2 separate regions of the Homo sapiens genome follow, and region 1 is linked to region 2. Evidence: promoter capture Hi-C in 16 types of primary human blood cells and fetal thymus (Javierre and others, 2016). All regions are on one chromosome and are shown on one strand. Each heading gives the region's core, a stretch centred on a gene start or on the middle of the fragment in contact. The rest is flanking DNA. Distances are from core to core; before and after follow the strand shown. Region 1 overlaps FENDRR (FOXF1 adjacent non-coding developmental regulatory RNA). Region 2 holds the start of LINC00917 (long intergenic non-protein coding RNA 917).

Region 1 (2,700 bases), core at 23-2,522, 150 kb after region 2:
GTTTTTATTTGGGAGGGAGATGTGTTAGGGACTTGCTGTATCCGGTGGAAACTATGATGCTGCTATTCTCAAAAATGCACCTACACACCTAGTTTGCACCTTCCACTTCAATATCCTTTGATCTGGAGATAAAAACACAGCCTTTCGCCTTCCCCATGCTTGACCCACTCTGTTACCCAAGGCCCTGGAAGCAGCCCCCAGGCTGACCCTTGATGGGGGGCAGCAACCTCCCGGCCCCCAATCAAGGGGTCTGCTGCTCTCCTCTGAGGTGGCAGAGGAGAGAAAGTGGGACAAAGTCCTCAAAGAAATGCCTCATCCCCAAGTAACTCACTCCCTAGGCTGTGAGCATTATCGCTACGTCAACTTTGGAGGAGTTGGAAGGAACCACCCTCAGAACAACTCTCCTTCCATGGGGGAGAAAGTTTACAAGCAAAACTTTAATTTGGTCCAGTAATTATCTATCTCTCGATGTCCCCTCTTCCTTGTGAAGTGTTGTTTCCTGGGATCGACTGACTTCTTTACCGCCGGGGTGCTAATCTGATTACCAGGCTGGTGAGCTCGGCCTTCAAAGCGTGTGTGAAGCAGTGTCGGTCTTCTTTGTAGTAACGGGGAAAGCAGAGATTCACAACAGGGCTTGGGGGATGGCGCCCCAGCGGTGCCAGGAGGTCCATCTCTCCAGGTGGAAAACCCAGGCCGGGTGTTCTCTGGGCCCTGCCTTCCACCTGCAGGCGGGCGGGGGTCCAATGAACCCACACCCAGGCTGAACTGGCCAGAAAGGGAGGGAACAGCATCTACACAAGCAGACTATGGCGACCACCAGAGAAAATAGGGCGGACAACCCAAATCTCCCCAGTCAAAGTTCCTCTAGGAAAAGATTAGACACGGCTCCGAAAGTTCCACTGGGCTAGACGCCCGCCGAGTCTCCGTTTCACCTTGTCTGTGGAGACGCAGCTATGCGGTGTCTGATAAGTGGACCGGACCTGGAAGCGCCGGGCTGTGGTCGCCCAAAGGCGTGGTGCCCGCATCAGCCTGGCTGCCCTGACCCAGGAAACACCGACCCTGTCCCAGGGCCACAGACACGGCCCAGGTCACCAGCCTCGTGGGTCAGTCTCTCTCCCGCTGCTGCAAGTCGGGCTGTCTCTCCTGCTGGCCGTTCTCCTCTAACCAAAGCAAAGGAGGGCAGCACCGCCAGGGTCCTTGCCTATCCACGGAGGAAAAGACGGCAGTGGGATCCGGAAAAGGGGGAGAGAAAAAAAAGTTCTCTCGGGATGGAAGGACTTGATAGGGCCTTTAGAAAATCTAATTGCTTAGCCCCAGAAAAAAAAAAAAGGCAGCCGGCCAGGAAATAATGTCAAAATCCGGGCTAATTATATTATTAAAAACAAAGAAAAAAACGAAAATGAAAAGGAGCAGAGCGGTGAAGGGGATAAGGGAGACTGAGTTCTAGCCGCATCCGAGTGTCCCGGAAGCGTTATCTGAGTGCTCCTTAAAAAAAAAGGAGCTGCGGGACTTAAATTAGGGTTTTTCTTATCCACAAACCTGATTGCGCTACCGAGGGTTGGTGGGGGGAACGAGGTGAGGGGGCTGATTGCAAACAGAGGGTTCTCGATTTGGAGAAAGTTAGAGAGGCGGGCAGGGCAATTTCACCCAGTTAGAGGAGGTGGGGGGGAGAAGGTTTCTGCTGGAGGTCCCAGAGCGGCCCAGAGCGCGCTCCCTTTGATTGGGCCTGGGACCAGAGCGCGGCGAGTCTCCGGCGGCCGCGGCGCGATCGGCTGGCTGTTTGTAATTCCATCCTTTTTTCATTAACATAAACACCACTTGAACAAAAATATACACGGCCACCTACTTCGTCGGGAAAGACAGTCCAGCGCCCACCGGCCCGTGCTCGCCCGCCTGCCGAGCCCCGAGTCCCGGCAACGCGCCCCGGGTGCTCCGGTCCACTCGGCACACGCCGCGCGCGGGGCTCGGCCGAGGTGGCTTCGGGTGGCTCTGAAGCCTCGGTCTTCCCGGCTCCCAGGACGCCCCCCCCGCCCCCGCCCCTCCATTCAGCCTGTCATCTCGGCCCTCCGCCGCCTCCGGAGCCCCGACGGAGGTGCTGAGTTGTCAACGCAAATTCCTAGTTAAGCCACTTGTTGATAAACCCTCTAGGCAAATTGGTTCCGTCTTTACCTGCCCGCCCCGCCCCCGCCCCCGGCCCCAGCCGGCGCGCCCCTAATTGCTGGAGGAGCTCGACGCCGGCGGCGGCCTCTGCAGCGAGCTAATTGAGTTGGAACCCGAGCGGTCTTCGTTAAGCCGGACGCAAGGCGGGGACGGGGGAAGGGGGCGGGAGGTGAGACGCAGCCTGGGACCTCCGGCCTGGGGTTGGAGGCCCACGCTTGCTGGGGTGGGCTTTTGGTGGAGGAAGAGCAATCATGCGGAGGGCTCTGCCGCCGGGTTAAGTGGACGCAGCGACTATCTGGCGGTTCTCGGGGGTCTGCGTTCCCTGGTTCACAACCACCCCACCCCCACGCGCCTGTGCACATGTCCCTCCCGCCGCGCAGGGTCTCCGCGGGCGCGCCCCGCCCCAAATAGAGCTTACTACAGTAACCCGGGAGTCTCACATCTGCGCGTCCCCCACCCGCCCACCCCCGCACCGCCTGTACCCCAATTTCGGCCCGCACCCGACCAAATTTTAAAAATTGGGAGGGTTTTGGGGACTGC
Region 2 (2,700 bases), core at 124-2,623:
GGGGGGTTGGGGATTGTGTCAGGTAGTGAGCTGTTTCCTGGAGAAGCCTGCGTCTGGTTCCAGAGGGAAGTGAGTTTCTAAGAGAAGGCATCTGTAGGAATTTTGCCCATCAGCCGTGACACCAGCACTGCTGTTGGAGGGATGAACAGCTCATGACAAAGTCCTGTCTCCTCTCTCCCCTTCCCCGTGTCTGTGCAATATCATTAGAACTGGCAGACCCTTATTAAAAACAGTTGGCCACTGAGAGGCTATATCCTGTGTGAGACAGAAGCCCAGATGGTAGGTGGTCTTACTTTTGGGGTGGGGTGTTCCAGGTGGTAACAGCCTCGAGGGCGGGAGGACCATGCCGCCTGTTTCTTGGCATCCGTAGGTGGTTCCTGCCTCCTTCCCTTTGGCAGGTGTGTGGGAAGGATTGAGTGTGAAGGGATGCTCACAAGCACTGAGAAGATGGCCTGGCACTTGTGAAATGACAGAGGTGGCCTGGGAGGTGTCCCGGACCCTGGATTTAATGTGCAACACATGGTTCAGTCGGTCCCAATGTTGGGACTGTAGAGAACGTACCAGAAGCCTCACAGATACTCAAGGAGTCGTGATTATTAGGACTGGGCTGAGTTAGCTCTATCTAGTACTTTGTAATTTTAAAGACCTACTCAAGCAATATTACAATATAAACGGGATCACATGGACTACCTTTCTACTTCAAACAACTCCAGAGGCATCCTGCTGTGGATAACAGAAGCTGATTCTCTTTCTCTCTCCGCCTCCTCCTCGTCTTCCACCTCCCTCATAAAGCATCCCCCAGCACTGACAGGGTACCGTCATAATGATGGTTATATTGAACTATGTGAGTGCCTACTCTTTGCTAACCAAACTAAATTATTAGTTGCATCATTTCATCTCAACTTCACACAGTTATTATATTTTTTCCTTTTTCTTTTATTATGGCAAAGTCTAGTTAATGTAAACCTTGCCATTTTAACTTTTTTAAAGTGAATATTTCAGTGGCATTGGGTCCATTCGCATTATCGCACCACCATCGCCACCGTCCAATTTCAAAACTGTTTCCATCCTGCAGAACTGGCACTTAGTATTCATTACACGACCCCCTCCTGCAGCCACGCTGGGAGCTGACCCTCTCCACCCATGCTTCGTGCACTCAGGCGCTCATCCAGGGATCATCCTGTACCTCAGACTCTGCCAAGAACTGTCCGGCCCCAGGGCCTTTGCAAGCGCAGGTCGCACGGCCTGGGATGCCCTCTCCCAGCTCACCACATGGCTGGCTCTTTCCCATTCATTGGCCTCAGCCCAGTGGCCTCCTTCTCGTCAGAGAGGCCGCCCCTGCCTGCCCTGGCTGGCCGGCCCCTCCCCCACAATGACTCTATGACATCATCGTGTTCCTTCTCCTCGGAGCCCTCAGACCCTCTGAAATCCTCTGGTCTGTGTTTTGTTTCCTCCGTCTCTATCTCTCTCCCCACTAGAAGGCAGGTCTCAGGAGGGCAAGGACCCGGCCTGTCCAGCTTCCAGCCGTAGCCCCAGGGCCGGGTGTGCAGTAGATACTCAACAAGCCTTCTTTCCTCCCACCAGCCTTTCCTCCACAAGGGGAGACAGGACTTGGGGGTGTTTTTGGGGGTCTAAACAACACAAAGGAAAGAGACGCTGAAGTGGGTGAGCTGGCCTCGCACTGCACTTCCTGCTGGAGTTCAAAGTCAGCCCTGCCCCTGGAACTGCCATGGCCAGTTTAGATTGTTCCAGAATCCCGCTGCAGGCTGTTCAAAAGGCTCCCAGCTGCTATCAGGAAATAGCTCAGGAAGGTCCCTGTTAAACACCACCCCCATCCCCGTAACCCTGAGCAGCCCTCCGCCACCTGCTATTTTCTATCTCTGAGAATTTGCTGACATTAGGCAAGTCATGTCTGTGGAATTATACAATGTTTGTCCTTTTATGAGTGGTTTGTTTCACTCGGCACCATATCCTCAAGGCTCACTCATGTCATAGCAGGTGTCAGAACTTCCTTCCTTTTTAAGGCTGAATAATATTCCACTGTATGGATGGACCACGTTTTGTTTATCCATTCTCCTGTCAATGAACATTTTCGTTGCTCTCAGCATTTGGCTGTTAGGAATAGCGCTCTGAGGACATTTGTGCACACGTGTTTGCATGGATTTAATTGTTTTTCCTTTTCTTGCCTGTTCTTGGGTGTCGTGGCCAAGAAGCCACTGCCGAGTCCAACATTGTGAAGCTTTCCCCCTATGTTTTCTTCTAAGAGTTTTGTAGTTTTTTTACATTTAGTTATTATGGTAATGCCTTTGATCCTTTTTGAGTTAATTTTTTGTATCTGGTGTAAGAGAAGGGCTCAACTTCATTCTTCTGCGTGTGGTATTTGGTTTTCCAAATACCATTTTTTGAAAAGACTGCCCTTTCCCCACTGAAGGGTCTTGGCTCAAGACACTTGAATGTCAAATAAGTCAAAGGGCTTCTTTCTGGGCTCTGTGTTCTGTCCCATTGGTCTATCTGTCTGTATGTAGGTCAGGACCACAGTGTTTTGATTGTCATAGTTTTCTAGTAACTTTTGAAATCAGAAAGTGTATGACTTCCAACTTCCTGGTTTGTATTTTTACATTTTATATTTTGTCCCCATTTTACAGATGAGACAAAGGAAGCTCAGAGAGGGGAACTGACTTCCGAGGTCACAGAACAAGC

What was found. The method cuts DNA at HindIII sites, captures the fragments that hold promoters and counts their contacts. A CHiCAGO score of 5 or more calls a contact.
Region 1: a fragment that was not itself captured here is called in contact with the fragment with the promoter of LINC00917 in region 2 in 1 of 17 cell types (endothelial precursors); the score reaches 10.8 in endothelial precursors.

Annotation. Positions count from the first base shown.
Region 1 is chr16:86,495,446-86,498,145 of GRCh38, forward strand. All of the region lies in intron 1 of FENDRR (FOXF1 adjacent non-coding developmental regulatory RNA), which reads right to left. Among named protein-coding and RNA genes, the nearest start is that of FENDRR, 12 kb to the right of the region's middle. The HindIII fragment of the contact is 5,562 bases long and covers 1-2,700 here.
Region 2 is chr16:86,344,306-86,347,005 of GRCh38, forward strand. LINC00917 (long intergenic non-protein coding RNA 917) reads right to left here and starts at 1,374. Exons shown (of 7, transcript NR_024406.1): 1 at 1,187-1,374. The HindIII fragment of the contact is 3,722 bases long and covers 1-2,237 here.